2 separate regions of the Homo sapiens genome follow, and region 1 is linked to region 2. The links are contacts of gene promoters, found by promoter capture Hi-C in blood cells and fetal thymus (Javierre and others, 2016). All regions are on one chromosome and are shown on one strand. The core of a region is centred on a gene start or on the middle of the fragment in contact, and the rest is flanking DNA. Distances in the headings are between cores, read along the strand shown. Region 1 has its middle 65 kb from the start of EIF5. Region 2 holds the start of LINC00677 (long intergenic non-protein coding RNA 677).

What was found. The method cuts DNA at HindIII sites, captures the fragments that hold promoters and counts their contacts. A CHiCAGO score of 5 or more calls a contact.
Region 1: a contact is called between a fragment that was not itself captured here and the fragment with the promoter of LINC00677 in region 2, in 1 of 17 cell types (M1 macrophages). The highest score is 5.8, in M1 macrophages.

Annotation. Positions count from the first base shown.
Region 1 is chr14:103,266,438-103,272,251 of GRCh38, reverse strand. No RefSeq gene overlaps it. Among named protein-coding and RNA genes, the nearest start is that of EIF5, 65 kb to the left of the region's middle. The HindIII fragment of the contact is 448 bases long and covers 1,042-1,489 here.
Region 2 is chr14:103,119,649-103,124,942 of GRCh38, reverse strand. It overlaps LINC00677 (long intergenic non-protein coding RNA 677), which reads left to right and starts at 2,034. Exons shown (of 2, transcript NR_138038.1): 1 at 2,034-2,334; 2 at 3,912-4,094. TNFAIP2 (TNF alpha induced protein 2) reads right to left here and starts at 1,482. Exons shown (of 12, transcript NM_006291.4): 1 at 992-1,482. RefSeq lists silencers at 1,191-1,240, 1,541-1,820 and enhancers at 1,485-2,018, 2,019-2,551. The HindIII fragment of the contact is 18,340 bases long and covers 1-5,294 here.

The DNA.
Region 1 (5,814 bases), core at 16-2,515, 150 kb before region 2:
TGATCCTCCTGCCTTGGCCTCCCAAAGTGCTGGGATTACAGGCGTGAGCCACTGTGCCTGGCAGTGACCTAAGCCTTAATGTTGTAAGAGTTACAGTTATGTTTGAAATAGATTTCAGGGCACTGAACTGAACAGTTTTTCACACGTTTTAGATTCATTTACAACCTAGAATTGCAGCTTTCTGGGTGGATTTGTTTTTTTTTTCATTTACATATATAAAATGCCTGACCTACTTGCTGAAATGTCCCTGTACTTTCAAAAGGTGTTGTTTTTTTTTTTTGTCAGAATGGAGCAAAATCAGCTTCTACAACTAACAGCATTATTTCCCCTGTAGTTTATTGAAGCAACATTTTTTCCCTGAACACCTGAATATTTTGACAATAATGCAAATGTTAAACAGAATGAAATTATGTAAAGAAAAGATGCTCTTTTTGTTTGCCTTTCTAGCTGTGTTTGTAAAACCTTGGGAATTGGCTGGGTGTGGTAGCTCAGGCCTGTAATCCCAGCACTTTGGGAGGCTGAGGTGGACGGATCACCTGAGTTCGGGAGTTCAAGACCAGCCTGGCCAACATGGAGAAACCCTGTCTCTACTAAAAATACAAAATTAGCCGGGCATGGTGGCACATGCCTGTAATCGCAGCTACTTGGGAGGCTGAGGCAAGAGAATCACTTGAACCCAGGAGGCGGAGGTTGTTGTGAGCCGAGATCGCGCCATTGCACTCCAGCCTGGGCAACAGGAGTGAAACTCCGTCTCAAAAACAAACAAACAAAACCTTGGGAAGGTTGCTGGTGTTTGGCTTTGGTGTGTGTGGGAAGTGTGTGTGTGTGGGGGGGGTTGTGTGTGTGGGGGGGGTGTGGGGGGGTGTGTGTGGGAGTGTGTGTGTGTGTGTGTGTGTGTGTGTCTGTATGTGAATTCCAGGCATTATTATTCTCTACAGCCCATGGACTCGCAGAGCTGAGACTTTAGTTCTGCCTTAGGCATTTGAACATTTTTCAAAATCAAATGTGAAAACTCAAAACTAACTTTTATCTGTATAAGCTTCCTAGCTTTGTCGAGGGAAAATGCTAGCCCGCGCAGTGGCTTGTGGAGGACCCTGGTATTCAGTTTATATTGTGTGTGATATTGTGGTAGAATAAAAGGTCCCCTCAAAATGAACAAAGAAACAAACACCAAAAAACCTTTCACTGCGCTGAGACCCGGCAAGACTTCAGTCCTCAACACTCCTTTCGGGGACTGGCTGTATGTCTTTTAGGCCTCAGGCAGTTCTTCAGTTTCCCCACAAGAATTTCAGTACTTTCAGTAACACCTGGAAAGCAGAACTGTCTCCCCAGATGGTGGCTGGGAAGAGGGTGTTCAGGCCCTGCGACCTGACACCCCCCAGGCAGAACACCCCCTTCATCTGTGGCAGAAATCCTTAACACTGAAGTTCAGGAAATGCCACCCCCAAATATGCCAGTTTGGGATATGGATTGGTTATAAAAGGAAGCTTTGAGTGGCACTTCCTTCTGTTTAGGATTTCAGGCAGCTCATAAAAACAAAGACCTCTATTTCCAGCTAGGCAATCAGGTGGGGGACAGGCATGGAGTAAAACTCTTGTCTCCAGTAACTCTGGGCTAAACTATTTCCCAATGAGAACAACTAACTGGATAAAATACATATTTTTAAAAATCTTAAAAATATTGAATTGCTGGGCCAGGCGCGGTGACTCACACCTGTAATCCCAGCACTTTGGGAGGCTGAGGCAGGCGGATCACGAGGTCTGGAGTTTGAGACCAGCCTGGCTGACATGGTGAAACCCCGTCTCTACTAAAAATACAAAAATTAGCCAGGGGTGGTGGCATGTGCCTGTAATCCCCGCTACTTGGGAGGTTGAGGCTGGAGAATCACTTGAACCCGGGAGGCGGAGGTTGCAGTGAGCCGAGATCACGCCACTGTACTCCAGCCTGGGTGACAGAGCGAGACTCTGTCTCAAAACAACCCCCCAAAACCCAAAGTACTCCCACAAGTAATTTTTTTTTCTAGTTTGGAAAGGATAGCTTTATTCCTCCTAAAGGGTTGCAGCCTGAAGGTGGCCGTTCTGACAGGCTGGGAAGCATAGCCTCTGGCTGGAAGCTAGAAACAGATATTTGGAGGGTAGGAATGGTAACACAGGGATTTATATTGACCAGGGTGGCCAAATATACATATTCAATAAGCTTTAGGAGGATCCATGAATATTTATGAGAGGAGAAATATGAACATACACAGTTGAGCTTCATGCCTCTCCATGGGACCCACGTTCAAAAAATGGTAGCCTTCACATGGTCCAAGGGTGGAGTTTTTGGGCCTCTGATGTCAAAAGGGGAAGCAGAGAAAACCCTCACTGTGCATCCTCCGTAGACTGGCCAGAACCACTCTGAGGTCGGTGGTCTCTTATCAGGAGGGGATGCTGGTTGGTAAGGTTGTATTGAAAATGCAAAAGGAAGCGGCAGCGTCAGAGTCTGGTTGATGTCGGGGTGGGGTCTGTGGACCGCAGTCCGCAGGGGAGAAAGCCTAAGGGCAGCTGGAGAGGGAAAGGGGAGCGTGTCTGACCTGCCCTCCCGTGTCTGACCTGCGTTCCCATCATGGCCTGGAACTCAGTTTTCAAGGTATCTCTGGGGTCCCCTTGGCCAAGAAGGGCTCAGTTCAGTTGGTTGGGGGCTTAGGATATAATTTTTATGTCTCTTTTCCTCACTTTGGTCAAGATTTTCCAGAGGCAGCATCAGTGGCTAAACTTTAATTTTGTCCCATATCGTTGCCAGGGTGGTGTGGCTCCCTGCCCCAGGTCCATCCAGGCCCTCGGCGGAACCCCATGGCCAAGGGTCTTACAGCCAAAAGACTTGCAGTCAATTAAACATTTTAGGCCAGATGGGAATGGAGGCAGCCAGACATTCATTAACCTGAAAAACTTTAAGCAATGTAAGAGCCAAAAACCAAAGCCAAAATGCAAGGTTACAAAATTGGCTTATCTGTAAGTTCTATACATTGAGCTACTGCAATCTTGGTTTTAGTTACATTTGTAGCAATTAGCTATATAAAACCTAAGCAATTAGCTATATAAAACCTAAGCATTTTGCTAAAACCATTTAAAGTAAGGAATCTGGAGACTTTAGTTGGGCTGCAAAGCTTTTATTTATTCATTGTTTGAGACAGGGTCTCATTTTGTCACCCAGGCTGGAGTGCAGTGGTGCAAACTCGGCTCACTGCAGTCTCAATCTCTCGGGCTCAGGTGATCCTCCACCTCAGCCTCCCAAGTAGTAGGGACTACAGGCATGTGCCACCACACTCGGCTAATTTTTTTTTTCTTTCTTGAGACAGATTCTTGCTCTGTCGCCAGGCTGGCGTGCAGTGGCACGATCTCGGCTCACTGCAACCTCCACCTCCCGGGTTCAAGCAATTCTCCTGCCTCAGCCTCCCGATTAGCTGGGACTACAAGCACATGCCCAGCTAATTTTTTCTATTTTTAGTAGAGATGGGGTTTCACCATGATGGCCAAGATGGCCTTGATCTCCTGACCTCGGGATCCACCCGCCGTGGCCTCCCGAAGTGCTGGGATTACAGGGGTGAGCCACCGCTCCTGGCCCTAATTTTTAAATTTTTTTGTAGAGAGGGGATGTTGCTGCCATGTTGCCCAGGCTGGTCTTGAACTCCTGGGTTCAAGCTATCCATCTGCCTCGGCCTCCCGAAGTGCTGGGATTACAGGTGTGAGCCAGCGCCTCCACAAAGCTTTCTGTGGTCTCTTTAGTACTTTTTCTGAAGTGATGCTAATTGTTGTTGGTCATATCTCTATTGCGTAAACCCCGTAGCTGGAAGCAGCTACACCCAGAAGGCTCTGTCATTGCATATCTTGATATTCTCTTCGTAATTCTCCTTTAATTCTACAGGAATCGGGAATTTTCCGTGATTGGGATGGATGGAAAAGCACCCAACTGCTACATGCTGCCTGATGGCTCCAGGGTTGGCCCACCATCACTTCTGCCACCATTGTTGCCACACACACTGCCCAGGAGCCCACCTGCCCTGCCTACTGGTGGCGCCTGAGCAAGCTGGAGGCCCAAGGACTGGCCTATCTGGACTCACCACCATTAGCACCTGCATATGCCACCCAGGGGCCTGCAAATCAGCACACCTGGCTCCCCATTGCCACCACAGCTGTGGGGGCTGCATCCTGCAGAGCCACAGGGCAGAGCCCACCCCTTGAGCCAATGTGGCCTGGATACGAGACACAGGGTTGAAGGAGATTATTTTGGAGCTTTAAGATTTAATGACTGCCCTGCTGGGTTTCAAACTTGCATGGGGCCTGTAGCCCCTTTGTTTTGGCCAGTTTGCCTTTTTGGATTGGTAGTATTTAGTCAATGTTTGTACCCCCATTGTATCTTGGAAGTAACTAATTTGTTTTTGATTTTACAGGCTCATAGGTGGAAGGGACTGGCCTTGTCTCAGATGAGACTTTGGACTGTGGACTTTTGAGTTAATGCCGAAATGAGTTAAGACGTGAGGGACTGTTGAGAAGGGATGATTGTATTTTGCAGTGTGAGAAGGATATGAGATTTGGGAGGGGCTGGGGCAGAATGGAATGGTTTGGATTTGTGTCCCCAGCCACATCTCATGTTAAATTGTAGGAGGGGTCTGGACAGAGGTGATTGGATCAAGGGGGCGGATTTCCCCCTTGCTGTTCTCGTGATAGTGACTGAGTTCTCACAAGATCTGGTTGTTTAAAAGTGTGTGGCACCTCCCCCTTCACCCTCTTCCTCCCGCTCCAGCCTCAAAGGATGTGCCGGCTTCCCCTTCACCTTCCACCATGATGGAAGGTCTCCCGAGGCCTAGCCAGCCGTGCTTCCTGGACAGCCTGTGGGAACGTGAGCCGATTAAGCCTCTTTATAAATTACCCAGTCTCAGGCAGTTCTTTATGGCAATGTGAGAACAGACTACAATACCAACCAACATTATCGGTGTATCTACAGGAAAATGTCTTTCCCTACAAAAGCCAATCCATAAAATTAGAAGAAATGACTGTTACACCAGATGCGCAGATATCAACACAAGGACACAAGAAACACACACACACAAAGGAAACGTGACGCCTCCAAAGGAACACAATATTTCTCCAGGAACAGATCCTAAAGAAATGATGAAATGCTCAAAAAAATTCAAAATAAGTTTAAAAACTCAGTGAGATACAAGACAGCAAAGATAAACAATACAGAGAAATCAGGGGCCGGGGGAGTGGCTCAAGCCTGTAATCCCAGTACTTTGGGAGGCTGAGGCGGGTGGATCACTGGAGGTCAAGAGTTCGAGACCAGCCTGGCGAATGTGGCGAAACCTCATCTCTACTAAAAACACAAAAATTAGCTGGGTGTGGTGGCGTATGCCTGTGATCCCAGCTACTCGGGAGGCTGAGGCAGGAGAATCACTTGAACCGGGGAGGCAGAGGTTGCAGTGAACCAAGATCATGCCACTGCTCTCCAGCCTGGGTGACAGAGCCAGACTCCATCTCAAAGAAAAAAAAGAAAAAAGGAAATCAGGGAAACAATTCATGATATAAATGAAAAAAGTTAAAAAAAAAAAAAACAGAGCCATCATTAAAAAATGCCAAATGGGAATCCTGGAACTGAAGAATTCTGTTCCAGGTTTGAAGAATAAAATAAAATAAAAACAATCAAGAGCTTCAACAATAGACTAGATCAAGCAGAAGAAATAATTTTGGAACTTGAAAACACGGCTTTTGAAATAGCCTTGTCAAACAAAAAATAAAAGAGTGCTGGGTGTGGTGGCTCATGTCTGTAATCTCAACA
Region 2 (5,294 bases), core at 785-3,284:
GGGCTTGGCCAGAGCCACCTGAGGGACAGGAAGCCTGGGCTCCTCCCACCCCCAGCCCCTGCCATGCTCACCCAGTGCCCTGGGCAGAGTCCCACACTCCTGGATGGCACTGGCCTCCCTAGTGCCATTTGGGTTGAGCATTCCACTCCAGGACCAAGAGGGGCATGCTCCAGGGAGCCCCAGGGGCAAGGCCATGGGGCACCTCTGCTCCCCACCCGGTGCCCCAACTTCGCTTCCCAGCCCCTCTCAGGTGCATGCCTAGCACCCGCGGGAGCTGGTCTGTCTGGCAGGGCCACTCAGCCCCACCCTGGGTGCCCAGGCCCCACCTCTGCCATTCTCCTGGGGTGGGGGAGGGTGGCCCTTACCAGCAATGCTCCCTGCCAGCCTCACCTCAGCCTTCCCTGTCCCACCCCACATGTACTAGGCTCTGTCCCACCTCCAGGCACAGCTCCCGCAGGACCCCCACAGCATCACCGCCTTCTCCCCTCTGTGACACGAAACCCAGAGCGCCTGAAGGTCCTGCTGCAGCCCCCTGGGCCTCGCCCCAGGTCTCCGCTCTCCGAGGCAGCTGGTGCCATGGAAAGAGAAACGCTTTCGGTGTGGGCTCAGCACACTTCTCACTAGTGTGTGGACTGCACACCTCCTTCCTTCACAAGCCGCCGTTTCCCCGTCTTTGAAAAGGGGATGAGGACCCCCACCCCACAGTGCTGCTGAGGGGATGTGGCCAAACCGCACAGCCAAGTGCTGGGCGCCTAGCTGGGCCTCAGTGGGGGTGAGTCTCCTGTGTCCTGAGTCTGTCCTGCAGGCAGCAGCGAGCCGGTGCAGCCAGAAAGGAAGAAGGGGAGGAGGGGCGTTCCTTTGAGCCTTGCCGCTGGTTGGGCCCACTGAGGCAGGAAGGGGCCTGCTGGGAGGCTCGTAGAGGGGTCACAGCCAGTGGCTCAACAGCGCCCCCCAGCCTCCTGCTGCCCGGCCTCTCCTCAGGTCCACTGACCTGGCTCGCCTTCCCCGTCAGGGCTGATGTCCACACACCTCCCGGGAGCTCGCTGGGCCCGGCTCCTTCAGTCCTGGGCAGGATGTGGAAGGCGCACCCATCCCCCGATGAGGACACCCGGGCACGGGCGAGGAAGTGACTCGGCCTGTGTCGCCCGGCCGGGGAGTCACGCCGGACCTGGGGCCTTTCTGCTGTAATGGAGGGGAGACCCCTGCGCCTGCCCCAGCCCCGCCCTCCCTGCCTCTGGCAGGCCCGGGCCCTCAGCCAGCCTTGGCCCCTCTGCGCCCGGACGCGCGGACGCTGGGCGCGCCAGGGCCTCAGTTTCCCTGGAAGCGTCCAGCCCCCTCCTGTCCCCGCCGCGGCGACAGGCTCTTTCCTCGGGGAATCCGGCCTGGCCTCGGGGTAGGGGCGGGCGAGAAGCCGCGCGGAGCGGCGGGGAATGGACGTGTGGAAGCGGAGGTCACTTACCGTGTCCCGGCCTGGCCGCCACTGTCCTGGCCCGGGTTCCGCAAGGCCTGAAATAGTCGCAGAGTCAGCCCCGCCCCGCCCGCCCCTCCTTCCCCGCCCCGCCGCAACCGCGGAAAACCCGCGGGCGGAGGCCAAGGCCCAGCGCGGCCCGGCTGTGTCCCTGCGTCCCAGGGGCTGGGCGCGCCCGGCCTGCCCAGCGGGGGATGCGGGGCGCTGTCACTTCCTCCCAGCAGCCGGGCAGGGGCGGGGGGCTGGCCGCGCGTCGCATGGTATGTGGAGTTCGGGGGACGGCACGGGGACGACGGGGTTGTCAGGCGCGGAGCCATTGTCCGACGACGGCTCCTGATAGGCCGCCTGGATGGGGCGCGCTTGGCCGCGTTCCCGCGTCACACACCGGCTCCAGCTGCGGGAGAGCCCGTCCCACCCCAACTCCCCAGCCGCCCCTCTGAAGTGTTCCGGTGTCACCGTGGCCACAAGGAGGCAGGGGACGGGGGCTTCCTGAAGGAGGCCCCCTAAGGGGAAGGGGGCTACAAGGCTGGCCAGAGTGCTGGCCGCGCGGCTGTGCACAGGGCCTTGAGCCCCTCCGGTCGTCAAGCCTTGCTTGAAATGCGTAAATGCGGAAAGGTGAAGTGGCTGACCCGGCTCACACCACTTTAAGTAGCGGAGTGGGGTTCCTAGCCAGGCCTATGGGACTCCCACTGGAGCCTTTCCCCCTCTGGGGCTGGGGCTGGACCCACAGGCTGCCGGAGCAGGCAGAAGGGGAGGGGCCCAAGGCCCAGACTCCAGGGCCTCGTCTGGATCATCAACCCGGCTTTGCCCATTCAGCGCAGGCCTCCGTTTCCAGGCCTGTCTCCCCATCCACACCGTCTCTCAGGGTTTGTTTTGGGAGATGTGGGGGTGGGGCATGTGGGGAGGATGGAAAGGGGCTGTGAAGGGAACCCACTGGAGATTCACTTCCTTCCTTATTTCACACTCTAGGCTAGGAATTCCTGCCCTCTGGAAAGGACCCAGACATTTAGGAATTTCCCGCTGGGCAGGGGCTTCCCTCCTGCCTCACTGGGGCCTCTGCTCCTCCCCTCTTTTGTTTGGCCTCTTTCCCCGCCCCCTGATCACTCCGCCACCCCTTCTGCAGCCTAGTAACAGGTCTTCCAGGACCAGGGGGGCCAGCGGAGTGGGGGCGGCTGTGGGTTCAGGTGCCCTGGGAACTGAGAACTTCCTCTTCCAGAGTGCTGGCCAAGCGCCAGGTTTGCACTCGGATTGCCATCCATCATCCTGTCTCTGGGGAACCTGTGGGGGAGCGGATGCGGGAGGCCGCCAGGATGCAGGATGGGGCGTTAAGGCTGCCAACCCCACCCCTTCTCTCCTAGGACTCCAGGGATGACATTTTTCAGATGAGTCCACAGAGCCGCGGTGTCCCGGGGCTGGGAGGGTCCTTCCACCGGCACCGCGCAGATGGAGTTCATCCACACAGGGGCGATGAGGATACGGGCTGAGGGGCCCTGGCCGGTGGCTGCCTTCACGGCTGGCTGCTGTGGCCTCATTGTGCAATCCCCACAAGCCTCTCCTGCCAGACTCTGTTCCCCCACCCCACCCCCTCACCCCCCCTCCCATTCCCAAGCAGATCGGGAAATTGCTCGGGAAGTCTGCATCTGCCAGGAGGGCGTTGTCAGGCCTTAGGCCCCACTGTCCCCTCGAAGGCAGCCCCTGGTCTCCACGGGCTTTGCAGGGCTGAGGCGGGGCTGCCACCCTTGTCCCCCACTGACGGCAGTGGCCCGCCCAGAGCACCGGCTGGGGATTGGGAAACGAGGCTGCTGCCTTGGACTTGTGTCTGCACCAGTCACTTCCCCTCTCTAAGCTCAGGCATGAGGGTCAATGGTAACATACGTGAAGTCCTCAAGACAAGGAAAGTCTTCTGAAAATGGGGCAGCATGGAGGCCCAAGGGATGACAGCCAATGGGGCCCATAGGGCAGGAGCAGTCCTTACCCTCTTCTCGCAGATGCAGAAAGCAGTTCCCAAGAGGCCAGGCACTTCCAGAGGAGCCAAAGGCCAGCCTACGGCTCCTCCCCAGCAGGAAGCCAGCATCACATGCTGGGTGGCGATGTTTGTGACCAGTGGCCAGCGGCTGTCCCATTCCCCAGCTCCCCAGGGCACAGGCCAGGGGCAGTGAGCAGGGGGCTCTGCCTGGTGGGGAGGGCAGCAGACAGGAGCAGACTGGCAATGACCTCTCCATTTAGCCTAGAAGGCGAGTGTGCCAGCACCTGGCCAGGAGCCACGGTCAGCTCCTCGCACGCAACCCAGGGCCTCAGAGGCTACGACACATGGGATGTTCCCTCCCTTCTGTCTGCCAGAGCAATGACAGCTGACTGTTTAAAAATTATTATGGTACAATATACATAATGCAATTTATAATCTTTTAAGTGCACAGTTCAGTGGCATTAAGTATATTCACAGGGTCGTGCAACCAACAGCACCCTCCACCTGCAGAAATCGTCACCTGGCAAAACGGAAACTCTACCCACTATGCACTAACTCCTCTTTCCCTCTCCTCCGGGCCCTGGCAACCGCCATTCTACCTTTCGTCTCTGTGGTCTTGACTATTCTATGTACTGCAAATAAATAGAGTCACACAGCGTTTATCCTTTTGTGTCTGCATCTGCCAGGAGGGCGTTGTCAGGTTTATTTCACTCAGCATAATGCCTTCAAGATTCATTCATGTGGTAGCAGGTATCAGAATTCCCTTCCTTTTTGAGGCTGAATCATATTCCATTGTATGGATGGGCTACACTGTGCATTCATTCATCTCTCTGTGCACACTGGGATTGCTGCTACCTCTTGGCTGCTGTGTACAGTGCTGCTATAAAACATGGGTGTGTATACCAGGTGTGGTGGCTCATGCCTGTAATCCCAGCACTTTGGGAGGCCCAGGCGGGTGGATCGCTTGAGCTCTGGAACTCAAGATCAACCTGGGCAACATAGTGAGACCCTGTCTCCACCAAAAATACAAACAATTAGCCAGGTGTGATGGGGTGCACCTGTAGCCCCAGCTACTTGGGAGGCTGAGGTGGGAGAACCACCTGAGCCTGGCAGGTTAAGGCTGCAGTGAGCCATGATTGCACCACTGCACTCCAGCCTGGGCAACAGAGTAAGACCCTGTCTCACAACAAAAACAAACAAACAAAAGAACACGGGTATGCAAATATCTGTTCACGTTCCTGCTTTCAATTCTTTTGGGTAGACTGCTGATGTTTGTTGATCTCCACCGGTGCCAGGCGTTGTTCTAAGTGTTTTGTATACATTAGCCGATTTCATCGGACAGCCTAATGAAGTGGGCACTAACTCTCTTCTTTTCACAGATGAGGAAACTGAGGCACAGAGCGGTCCAGTCATGTGCCAGCCAGTGGTGAAGCTAGGAGCCCCTTCACTAAGCACAGTGTTATCTTGCTTCTCCTCCAACGTTGCTCAGCGTCTGAAATTCAGCTTGATGTATTTAAGTCAGACACAAGAAAGGACTTCTAGACCAAGGAGTTTAGATGCAGAAATGGGAGGTACTATCCTTCACTCCTTTTTCACCTTGAAAAAAATTTTTCCCAATCTTTTTCATTACCTCATTTAGTCCATTAATTAAACCTCCACCTGCGCCCTGTAGGGCAGCAGAAAAGGCCGATTCAGCACGGACCAGAGAATAACACAGGGAGGCACATTACTGGCCCTCTCTCTGCATTCTTGAAGGCACCTAGAGGAAAGCTCTCTAGAAGAGGGGCAGTTGGGGCTGGGCATGGTGGCTCACCCCTGTAATCCCAGCATTTTGGGAGGCCAAGGCGGGCGGATCACCTG